Linked DNA regions of Homo sapiens: regions 2, 3 and 4 are each linked to region 1. The links are contacts of gene promoters, found by promoter capture Hi-C in human tissues and cell types (Jung and others, 2019). All regions are on one chromosome and are shown on one strand. The core of a region is centred on a gene start or on the middle of the fragment in contact, and the rest is flanking DNA. Distances in the headings are between cores, read along the strand shown. Region 1 holds the start of GRIN2A (glutamate ionotropic receptor NMDA type subunit 2A). Region 2 has its middle 220 kb from the start of LINC01195. Region 3 overlaps GRIN2A (glutamate ionotropic receptor NMDA type subunit 2A). Region 4 overlaps GRIN2A (glutamate ionotropic receptor NMDA type subunit 2A).

What was found. The method cuts DNA at HindIII sites, captures the fragments that hold promoters and counts their contacts. A contact is called where the count stands out against the background at its distance.
Region 2: a fragment that was not itself captured here is called in contact with the fragment with the promoter of GRIN2A in region 1 in 1 of the 25 tissues and cell types used here (lymphoblastoid cells).
Region 3: a fragment that was not itself captured here is called in contact with the fragment with the promoter of GRIN2A in region 1 in 1 of the 25 tissues and cell types used here (heart left ventricle).
Region 4: a contact is called between a fragment that was not itself captured here and the fragment with the promoter of GRIN2A in region 1, in 1 of the 25 tissues and cell types used here (heart left ventricle).

What each region holds. Positions count from the first base shown.
Region 1 is chr16:10,180,850-10,183,723 of GRCh38, reverse strand. It overlaps GRIN2A (glutamate ionotropic receptor NMDA type subunit 2A), which reads left to right and starts at 1,296. Exons shown (of 13, transcript NM_001134407.3): 1 at 1,296-1,847. RefSeq lists silencers at 2,029-2,088, 2,099-2,208. The HindIII fragment of the contact is 17,773 bases long and covers 1-2,874 here.
Region 2 is chr16:9,671,445-9,674,388 of GRCh38, reverse strand. No RefSeq gene overlaps it. Among named protein-coding and RNA genes, the nearest start is that of LINC01195, 220 kb to the right of the region's middle. RefSeq lists an enhancer at 1-441. The HindIII fragment of the contact is 4,732 bases long and covers 1-2,944 here.
Region 3 is chr16:9,915,574-9,918,531 of GRCh38, reverse strand. All of the region lies in intron 3 of GRIN2A (glutamate ionotropic receptor NMDA type subunit 2A), which reads left to right. Among named protein-coding and RNA genes, the nearest start is that of GRIN2A, 270 kb to the left of the region's middle. The HindIII fragment of the contact is 9,405 bases long and covers 1-2,958 here.
Region 4 is chr16:9,755,444-9,758,441 of GRCh38, reverse strand. GRIN2A (glutamate ionotropic receptor NMDA type subunit 2A) reads left to right here. Exons shown (of 13, transcript NM_001134407.3): 13 at 1-2,998. Among named protein-coding and RNA genes, the nearest start is that of LINC01195, 300 kb to the right of the region's middle. The HindIII fragment of the contact is 8,168 bases long and covers 1-2,998 here.

The DNA of each region.
Region 1 (2,874 bases), core at 47-2,546:
AAGCATGTGGGAAATGCAGATGTCTTTGCTTTTAGGATTCTGGCTCCCTGAGATCAGAGGAGTGGGTTCCCGTACGGGGGTGGCGAGGCACAGGGAGAAGCATTGGAGCAGACTCTGTGTGTGTGTGTGTGTGTGTGTGTGTGTGTGTGTGTGTGTCGGCGCGCCTGTGCGTGGAGGGGGATAACTGTACCCAGCGCGAGGCACTGGGGGAGGAGGAAGCGGTAGCAGAGATCTGAATAATTGATTCTTCAGCCGCACCAGACGCCCGGGAGCGGGCGGAGAGCGTGGTTCCAACACCACGGACAGCAGCGCGCGCCGCCGCAGGCGCCCCCGTCGCCAGCCAGCCACCTATCCTGGCCTTATTTGCCGCCGTGCGCTCTCGGAACGGGTGGCCGCGCTCCGCGTCGCCGCCGAGGGACTGCGGGGTCTGTCTCGACCCACCTAGGAGAGAGGCTGCGGGCAGGAGACGCTTTCGCCCGCCGGAGCTCGAAGCCTCTTGGGCTTGAGCGGGGGCTACTGCGTCTCGCCGGCTGAGAACAAGTCCCTAAGTTGGTGTGGAGGGCGCCGCTACCTTCCTTCTCCTCTTCCTCGGAGGCGACCGCAGCAGAAAGACGCCCCGGGAACCCGGCTTTGCCAGTGCTGTGAACCAGGGTGTCCAGGCGCTCACCGGACTCCCGCTGGGAAGTGGGGAGCCGAACGCCCGGCGCGGAGCTGGCCCAGCAGCGAAGGGCCCGGAGGGAGCTGCCTTTCCCCGCCCGCGCCTCTCTCGGCCGGGGACCGCGGGGATCCCCGGCCACACGCGAGCGCGCTCCCACACTCACACACACACTCGCCCTCAAACACACCAGCCCGGAGCTGGGTTGCGGAGAGGGTGCTCCGGCGCGCTCAGAGGACCGGGCAGTTGCCGTCCGGAGTGGGGCAGGAAGCGGAGCTAGGGATCTTGGAGGGGAGCTCCTAGGGCTTGGCCGGATCATGGGACCGGGTGAGCGCTGAGAATCGCGGCCGCAGCCATCAGCCCTGGAGATGACCAGGAGCGGCCACTGCTGAGAACTATGTGGAGAGAGGCTGCGGTGAGTGCTAGCGCGGGACGCCGGGCCTGGGAGGCCCCCTTGGGAAGGGGGGAGGTGGGAGGCCTGAAGAGGGAGGAAGCGGCAGGATCACAAGAGGGTCGCTGCGTGGGAAAGATCCACCTCCCTCGGGGAACCGGGACCGCGGGAGCCCGCGTCCTTCCCTCCCCCTCTCCTACTGCTGGCTCGTCACAAACTCAGCCAGCGCCCCCCCACCCTCGTTACCTCCTCTTTCTCTCCCTACCTCCCTCGCTCAGCAGCTCCCGGTCGCACAACTCCCAGCAGCCGGCGCTGGGGAGGTGGTAGGGGGTGCGGGTGGAGGTGCCCAGTTAGCTTCTCGTGGGTGGCCAACCTGGGGCTCCCATTCTCCTGTGCACCCTGGAGTGGAGCTCCCGCTATCAGCCACAGGGGCTGAGGATCCGCACTGGGGGCGTCGTGGGCATCGGGCTTCAGCTTCCCCCCTCTTGTCTAGCCCCCCTGGGCGCATAGGGGGGCTTGTGAGCACTGCAGACTGCAGCCTTCCCCTCAACCCTCCCTCCCCTCGTTGGTGGGCTGACCCTGCCTCTCCTTCTCTCCTCCGCCCCGTTAGAGCCCTGCTGCAGAGCCTCCGGCTGGGATAGCCGCCCCCCGTGGGGGCGATGCGGACAGCGCGGGACAGCCAGGGGAGCGCGCTGGGGCCGCAGCATGCGGGAACCCGCTAAACCCGGTGGCTGCTGAGGCGGCCGAGATGCTCGTGCGCGCAGCGCGCCCCACTGCATCCTCGACCTTCTCGGGCTACAGGTACGTCCCAGAGGGAGATCAGGGCTCCTTGGGCCGGGGAGGAGGGAGACTCGACCGGAGGGAGAGCGGGAGAGGGATCAGGCTAGAGAGGGAGAGGGAAAGCGGGAGGGAGCCCAGCGGCGAAGTGCAGGAGGGGCACCAGGGGGCGCTGCGGCTCCGCGCTCCGCGGCGCTTACCCAGGAACGTCGAGGCCTCTTGGAGTTCGCCTCAACTTCCCCCGGCTCCAGCAGCGTCCGTCCCGAGAGGCGCGCGTCAGGGCACGCGTGCACGACCGTGCTGGTATTTGCAGGTACGCAGGGCTGTGCACCTGCCGCAGTTCATGCGTGTGCACCACCTGAGGACATGTGAGGACTCCGGCTGGCCGTGGGCACCGCTACAGCAGTCTGAGGAAGTGCGCAGAAAAGCGCGCGTGCCTATGAGCGTGTGCGGCCCACTGCCCACGTGCACCTAGGACTTGGCAACAGCGCCCGCAGTAGAAAGGCTAGGGAGGGGCTGTACAGTCCACGTCCGTCTGGGAGCTTCTTGGGAGCCTACCTTTCCCCCTACGCACGTTCTTTGCCAGCTCCTACGCGCTGGCCCGCGGGGGGACGCGCCTACTCTCCAGAATTCAGCATTGCACACGGCGCGCGTGAGAGAGGGTGTGTGTGTGTGAACATGTGTGTGTGCGTGTGTGTGTGCACGTGTGTGTGCACGCGCGCGTGTAGGGGTGAAGGACTCTCCACGGCCCCTTGGCTCGAGGTGGGGCGAGCCCCAAGTTCCCCAGGCACAGCGGAGCCTGGGCCCACCAGGCAGCGTCCTCACTCCCAAGCACTTGGGGTGTACTCTGACTGAGAGGAGCCGGGTCTGTAGTTGGGGCTGGGCGTAGAGCAAAGTGTGTGGTGCACACGACGGGCTCGTAGGGGGCGGGGTCAGCCAACTAGCTGAGCTCTCAAGCTGGGACGCGGGGTCTGGGTGCCGCCTCCGCACGCCCTGCGGGGTCTGTAGTTCGCTCCGCGCCAGCAGGGGGCGGGGTTGATAACTTGGTCCT
Region 2 (2,944 bases), core at 341-2,840, 510 kb after region 1:
GCTTAGCAGCAGAAGACTGACACCGCCCAATCGCCTCAGAAGCCAACAGAACCATCACAGATGCTCTGGATAACTCTCACAGTGGAGGGTAAGTCCGTCCCCTTCTTAATCAATACGGAGGCTACCCACTCCACATTACCTTCTTTTCAAGGGCCTGTTTCCCTTGCCTCCATAACTGCTGTGGGTATTGACGGCCAGGCTTCTAAACCTCTTAAAACTCCCCAACTCTGGTGCCAATTTAGACATTACTCTTTTAAGCACTCCCTTTTAGTTATCCCCACCTGCCCAGTTCCCTTATTAGGCTGAGACACTTTAACTAAATTATCTGCTTCCCTGACTATTCTAGGCTACAGCTGCACCTCACTGCCACCTTTTCCCCCAGTTCAAAGCCTCCTTCACATCCTCCCCTTATATCTCCCCACCTTAACTCACAAGTATAAGACAAGTATAAGACTCACAAGTATAAGACTACTACTACTCCCTCCTTAGTGACCGATCATGCACCCCTTACCATCCCATTAAAACCTAATCACCCTTACCCCGCGCAATGCCAAGATCCCATCCCACAGCATGCTTTAAAAGGATTAAAGCCTGTTATCACTCGCCTGCTACAGCATAGGCTTCTAAAACCTATAAACTCTCCTTACAATTCCCCCATTTCACCCGTCCTAAAACCAGACAAGCCTTACAGGTTAGTTCAGGATCTGTGCCTTATCAGTCAAATTGTTTTGCCTATCCACCCTGTGGTGCCAAACCCGTATACTCTCCTATCCTCACTACCTGCCTCTACAACCCATTATTCTGTTCTGGATCTCAAACATGCTTTCTTTACTATTCCTTTGCACCCTTAATCCCAGCCTCTCTTCACTTTCACTTGGACTGACCCTGACACCCATCAAGCTCAGCAAATTACCTGGGCTGTACTGCCGCAAAGCTTCACAGACAGCCCCCATTACCTCAGTCAAGCCCAAATTTCTTCCTCATCTGTTACCTATCTCGGCATAATTCTCATAAAAACACACGTGCTCTCCCTGCCAATCGTGTCCGACTGATCTCTCAAACCCCAGCACCTTCTACAAAACAACAACTCCTTTCCTTCCTAGGCATGGTTAGCGTGGTCAGAATTCTTACACAAGAGCCAGGACCACACCCTGTAGCCTTTCTGTCCAAACAACTTGACCTTACTGTTTTAGCCTAGTCCTCATGTCTGCGTGCAGTGGCTGCCGCTGCTTTAATACTTTTAGAGGCCCTCAAAATCACAAACTATACTCAACTCACTCTCTACAGTTCTCATAACTTCCAAAATCTATTTTCTTACTCATACCTGACGCATATGCTTTCTGCTTCCCGGCTCCTTCAGCTGTATTCACTCTTTGTTGAGTCTCCCACAATTACCATTGTTCCTGGCCCGGACTTCAATCCGGCCTCCCACATTATTCCGGATACCACACCTGACCCTCATGACTGCATCTCTCTGATCCACCTGATGTTCACCCCATTTCCCCACATTTCCTTCTTCCCTGTTTCTCACCCTGATCACACTTGGTTTATTGATGGCAGTTCCACCAGGCCTAATCGCCACTCACCAGCAAAGGCAGGCTATGCTATAGTATCTTCCACATCTATCATTGAGGCTACCACTCTGCCCCCCTCCACTACCTCTCAGCAAGCCGAACTAGTTGCCTTAACTCAAGCTCTCACTCTTGCAAAGGACTACGCGTCAATATCTATACTGATTCTAAATATGCCTTTCATATTCTGCACCACCATGCGGTCATATGGGCTGAAAGAGGTTTTCTCACTACACAAGGGTCCTCCATCATTAATGCCTCTTTAATAAAAACTCTACTCAAGGCCGCTTTACTTCCAAAGGAAGCTGGGGTCATTCACTGCAAGGGGCATCAAAAGGCATCAGATCCCATTGCTCTAGGCAACGCTTATGCTGATAAGGTGGCTAGACAAGCAGCTAGCTCTCCAACTTCTGTCCCTCACGGCCAGTTTTTCTCCTTCACATTGGTCACTCCCACCTACTCCCCTGCTGAAACTTCCACCTATCAATCTCTTCCCACACAAGGCAAATAGTTCTTAGACCAAGGAATATATCTCCTGCCAGCCTCACAGGTCCATTCTATTCTGTTGTCATTTCATAACTTCTTCCATGTAGGTTACAAGCTGCTAGCCCGTCTCTTAGAACGTCTCATTTCCTTTCCATCATGGAAATCTATCCTCAAGGAGATCACTTCTCAGTGTTCCATCTGCTATTCTACTACCCCTCATGGATTGTTTAGGCCTCCTCCCTTTCCTACACATCAAGCTCGGGGATTTGTCCCTACCCAGGACTGGCAAATTGACTTTACTCACATGTCTCCAGTCAGAAAACTAAAATATCTCTTAGTCTGGGTAGACACTTTCACTGGATGGATAGAGGCCTTTCCTACAGGGTCTGAGAAGGCCACCGCAGTCATTTCTTCCCTTCTGTCAGACATAATTCCTCAGTTTAGCCTTCCCACCTCTATACAGTCTGATAACGGACCAGCCTTTATTAGTCAAATCAGCCAAGCAGCTTTTCAGGCTCTTAGTATTCAGTGAAACCTTTATATCCCTTACAGTCCTCAGTCTTCAGGAAAGGTAGAACACACTAATGGTCTTTTAAAAACACAACTCACCAAGCTCAGCCACCAACTTAAAAAGGACTGGACAATACTTTTACCACTTTCGCTTCTCAGAATTCAGGCCTGTCCTCAGAATGCTACAAGGTACAGCCCATTTAAGCTCCTGTATAGACGCTCCCTTTTATTAGGCCCCAGTCTCATTCCAGACGCCAGACCAACTTAGACTGTGCCCCAAAAAACTTGTCATCCCTACCATCTTCTGTCTAGTCATAGTACTATTCACCGTTCTCAACTACTCATACATGCCCTGCTCTTGTTTACACTGTTTCTCC
Region 3 (2,958 bases), core at 81-2,580, 270 kb after region 1:
TCTGTGATTCCAGTTACCCATAGTCTGAAAATATTATATACAATACAGTATTTTAAGAGAGAGACCACATTTATATATCATTTATTCTAGCATATTGTTATAATTGTTCTATTTTATTAATAATTGTTGTTAATCTCCTACAGTGCCTAATTCATGAACTTTATCATAGGTATGTATGTCTGTGTAAGAAGAAACATGATACATACACAGTTCTGTACTATCTGCAGTTTCAGGCATCCACTGGGGATCTTGGAACATATTCCCTGTGGATAGGGAGATACTGCAGTACATCCACAGGCTTTGGAATCAAATTTCAGCTTTTTCTGCCACTTATTAGCTGTGAGACTTTGAGCAAGCAACTAAATATATCTGAGCTTCATTTTTGTCATCAGTAAAATAGAAATAATGCTGGTCCCCACTCACAGTGGGGGAGTTTGTGAGAATTAAATAAAGCATGTAAAACATTTAGCTCAGTACCTGGCCCACAGTAAGTGATCTATGAATGCTGGCTCTTATATAATAATATAATTCTCGGAATAACCAAGGAAAATAGAACAAAAAATGCCACCTAGATGGCAGGATTGCTTTGCATAGCTTAATTAAGTATGTTTCATTATTCCAACTCCCTGGGGCTTTTGAGAATAAAATTTTTAAAAATGTACAACGACAGTCTCATTAAGAGAGTGCAGAAGGAGCAATCTCTAGGCGGGGAGTGAGAGGGAGGACGTGTTGAAATTGTGGAGCAGAACGCACGAGTACTGGTGTAAACTTGGTCCTTAAACAGTAAATACACACATCCAACCACACAACCATGTCTTTCCAAAGGAAGTTTTTAAAAAGTTAGAAGAACTTGGGTCCTGTATAAGAGTGAGATGTTAACATATTTTATTTGACTGAAGAGTCTAGCTATTATAAGATCTTTATTTCAAAAAAGTTAAAGTGCAAAAGATGTGCATTTTGGAACCGATGCAGTAGAACAGTGGTGCATTCCATGTCCAGTTTTCCAAGTAGCTGTGAGGTAGGCGATATTATCCTCCTTTGAGATGTAAGAACATTGAGGCTTAGGAAAGTCAAGTGCCTTTTTCAAGGTCACATTGTTAGTGGACAGCAGTCACAATTGCATTCATCCATTCATCTGAAGAATTTACCTAGTGTTCAGTGCCAAACCCCACAGGGGATACACCAGTGAAAACAACAGAGCATGACCCCTGGGGTTATAATCTCATAGGGAATTTAAACAAAAATGAGTAAGGAATCAAATACATAAAATAATTGCACTATATTATGGCTCCTGTGAAGGGCAGATATGGGGTACTGAGATGGAAAACGTGAAGGATGGAAGGAACACACCTCTTGCCTCTTTGCAGAAGTGATGTTTCTACTGAAAGCTGAAGGGTGAAGAATCAGATATGAAAAGAGCCGGAGAAAAGTCATTCCAGCCAAAGGGAGCAGAGTGCGCAAAGTCCCTGAGATGGGAAATATTTTAGTGTTTATAAGGTAATAAAAACACTTATTCTCATGGTAGACTCAGTTTCGGGTCTTTCTCACTTCAGAGTGTCTGCTATGAACCACTAGGCAACGCTACCTCTGCAAAAGGGAAAGTTGGGTGTTTGAAGGCCAAGAGACACCATGGAGCAGTAGCTGCCAAAAGGATGCTCATCACTTCCTCACATCACTTACTTAACTCCCCAGAAGAAAATTCCTTTCATATGTTAAATGACCAACTCCATCTCTGCCTTGTAAAAGCTGGAGGAGATATTTGAAGGGCTTCTGTTAATATATGGGATGTGGGTGGCGGGGAGGAACTGGTGGAAAAGAGGTCATGCCTTGAAAGGTTGGAAAAGGGAGGATGGTGGAAAAAGAGCTAGGAGTGGACCGTTGACTCCTAGTGAAGAAGGCTGCATCACCAGCCACCTCCGAGGTGGAATACCAGGTGTCTGTTAATCCGCAGCAGGATACTATTAGAAAGCCCATTTCACTTGTCACTGTATCGCTGTGGCTCTGAGAGTTGTGCCTTTTGGTTCCAAATTGTTTTCATTTCAGTACCTTCCTTCCCAATAAGTGGTATTGAAAATGAGGGAAGAATGAGAAGACCTCGATTTATACGTGCCGGCAGATTCAGGGTGTATGAAAAGCTCCTACTCACAATTTCTGGTTCTCTTGAGAAGTTGGGTGATGTTTAATGCAACTTTCTCTTCTTTTTTTCCAAGGACTCATGTCATGAAGCTTTTGACTGTTGGGAGGATCTGTGGGGTCATGGGATCATTTTGCTTTATTACCCTCCTAATTAGACATAATTAATAATTATTACAATAATGTTATATAGTGTTTTAGACTCATATACAAAATCTTGAATCCTCATAACAATTCTTTGAGTTGCATGGGATTATTCCAATTTTACAGATAATGTTCACAGAGGTGACATCATATAACCAAGATTACACAAAGAGATTGACCTAACTCTTATGCCTCCAACTCCAGAAGACAAAGTTGGCAAATAATTGGCAGATGAGAAATTGTTGCAGCACTCTCAATAATCCCAGGAAGGAAGTACAGATGTTGATTAATTAACAACAACCAAAGGTATTATCACATCTACAGTAATTAGCATTTATCAAGTGCCTAGAGTGTGTCTGGCATACTGTGCTAAATTCTATTTATTAATCAATCTAATTCTCACAACAAACCTGTCATGTAGGTGCCATTAGTATCTCCATTTAACAGATGAAAAAACGGAGGCTCAAAGAGGTGAAATAACAACTAGTTTATATAAGTAGCAAGTTGCAGAGACAGTTCACAAACCCAAATAATTTAACTCCAGAGTCAGTGCTTGTCACCACCACCTAAACTACCTCCATTGATGGTGTACTTCTAATATTAATAACAATGACATCAATTACATCAATTCATTGGACAGAGCAACTGTGAGTTGTGAGTCCCATCTCTTACCATTGGTTA
Region 4 (2,998 bases), core at 99-2,598, 430 kb after region 1:
TTGTAGGGAGGATGACAGAGCCTAAGTAGAATATGGGTGTTGGCGTTCTTGGCCCCTTCTTTAAAAAACAAAACTCTGGGATGAGGGGTATAGAATATATTCTGCTCGCATTTGCTTCTGAAGACAATGCCGATATGGACTTGTGTGTGATTTCCTTAAACACATCAAAGGGCATAGATTTCCTATTTAAATTCCTTATCCTCTTTCCTCACCTGCACTCTTTCTGTGCCCAGCAGTACTTTCAGTATAGTATTAGCTAGAAGTGCCTGCCCAGAAGGGTCTTAGAAAAATAGAGTTCGTAGAACCACACCAAAAGTTAGGAGAAGGGGAGGAGAGATGAGAAAAATGAAGTTTACAAATGGGCAGTTGCCTGTTTAAGATCATCAAGTTAGAGAGTATCAGAGCGAGGATTAGATCCAAGACATGGTTCAATTTCTGGCTCGATTCTCTGACCGGGCTGACTTATTTCTAGGTTTCTTTCAAGGGGAAACTCCTGAGTAGCTCTGGAATAAGAGCCAGAGATCCCCATAAGGCTGCCCTGGTTTTTGTTTTGTTTTGTTTTTTGTTTTTGCCACTTGCCCCAGAAAGACCTACCCATGCTTCTTTGAATTTGGTTTTCCTTTAAACTCCCTCACAATCCCTGTCTTAAAGTTCCTAGAAGAGAAAACTTTTCTCAGAGACCGTCTCCTTAGGAAAAATCAACAGGGATATTGTTTAAAACCTCAAACTGAAGATAAAAGGCTGGCAGTGACCATTGAAATAATTGAGGTCTATGTATCATGCATTGAGGAAGAACCAAGCACATTGACCAGCTAATAGGACTTCACTGAATGTCCACTTTATTTTGAAAGCCAGTTTGGGATTGTGGGGGAGGGGATGCAAAATAAATAGAAAATATAGTCTCTTCCCATAAGTAGCTTATGGTTTAGAAGTTCAGTTCTCTAATACAAAGGATAACCAAGGACCCATGCAATGCAAACAGAGACTAAACAGCAAAAATTAGAAATGACAACTAAAGTTGTAGCCAGGAAAAAAAAAATAATCTGATTCTATGAGCATACCTTTTTTAAAAAAAAAAAAAAAGTCCTTCCCTAAACCTTTAAGTAACTCCGGAGAATAGAGTTAGTGGTCCCGGAAATGCAGTTGATTTATTTTAATCTTCAAATAATGGACTTAGGAGACCCAGGAGCTGCTAACCAGGTGAACACACTCACACTCCTACATTTTTGCACAGGAAGGCTTTTGTCTGGTTCCAACCAGTTCTCCAGTCCTTGCCAAATCATGCCTCCTCCCAGCCTTGCATTATGACATGTGCCTCAAGAAAAGGTTGAAAAAATTCCCCAAAGGATTAGAAAATAGACCATGATGTAAAAAGACGAAGCATTTCCCTAAAGCTTTTTTGTTTGGTTTTGTTTTTGACATTTGAAGAACCCTTCTGATACACCAGGGTATGAATGTATCAGGGAAGCATAGAGGGAAAATTCTTTATCAAGTTCCAAGTGCCTACTGCTGTGGCTGACAGAAAGCATCAGGTTCCCTAGAGAGAAAACGGGGCAAAGAGATGGCAAAAGGAATAGAGGTGTATTTCAGGAAGGATGGCGAGGTGGAGAGGGAGCTTTTGTCACTCTGTCTATCCCATTCTGTGCATTCTTGGAATGTTACATTTTCTGCTTATCGCAAGTACTTGCCATGGATCTGCACCTGAATTTGAAAATATCAAAATATATCTAAATTGAGTGTAGGCGATATTCTAGGCATATCCTAGAATGTGATCCTCAAAACAACCTTAAGATATAAATATGATTGCTCCCATTTTACAGATAAGGAAACTGAGGCTCAGGTTTTTCTCAACCTCGTCAGCAACTAGAATTAGCTAGTAAATCCCTAACGTTAGACATATTTTCAAAGTGCCTGGTCTCCTCCAGGGAGGTCAGAATAGAAGTCAGAAAGAGAGGTGTGCTCTTTTGAGGTTCCTGGGCATATACCCTTGAGTATCAGCCTCTGTGACAGGGAAGTCTGTTAGGGTCTTACCCCTCATTGCCTGATCTGTGTGTATGGAGAACTTCTGGGGATCTCACCTCTGTTCATAGTTCCTTCTGAGACTTGAACACTGTTTGTGTCTCCCTTTCATATGCTTGCACTTAGCATTTAAAAAAATTTCTGGGGAGTTATTTTCTCTACTTAGCATGTGCCTAATCTTAAATATCTCTTTCCTAATGTCTCATCTTTTTATCAGTCAACATCAGGGCTAATTCCATTAAACATATATACATAGTACATGCTCTCATGTGTGTGGGTATGCACACACACACACACAGCCATGTGACCCTCCATTAAAGTCCTCCTAAATATTGTGACCCATGTTCAAAGAGGTGATATTATTTGCAAGTTGACTATTCCTCCTATTTCATGTCTATGTTTGGTTATCTTTGCCAGGCAGATGGAATGAGTTTCAGAGGTGGGACAGGGAATAGGAAATAGAGTTTCTGCATGAATGATGGAGAGCTTTGGTAGTCAGAATGATTGAGGACCAGCTATTAAAATGTTGTTGTTGTTTTCCTTCTTGGTCTGTTCCTTTTTTTTTTTCTTTTCCAAATTGTCTTAGAGATAATTCCCGGCTCACTTAGCATTAGGATAATGACGGTTATTCTGTCCCACTGAAGAGTGTTGAACTGGAACGCTTCCACCGGGCTTTATAGGTACCCAGAATGGCCTAATGTTTAACATATCCTGCAGGCATGCCCCTGAGCACACACTGCCTTTCCTGCATTCCCCCCTCTCCATGGTCTAAGCCACATTTCTTTCCTGGCATTTATATTTACTGAGAGGTGAGGGGTGCATTAGGCCCATTTGATGGATGAGGACACTAGCGGGGATTTGAAGGAATGTCTTTCTGGGAGTCTCCATGAATTCTCTGGAGAGTTAGCTAACTTAATGCAAGTTAAGTGCTAGTCTATGAGAAAAATTTCTCAGCTGTTTTCATCTTTCAAGCTGGCAG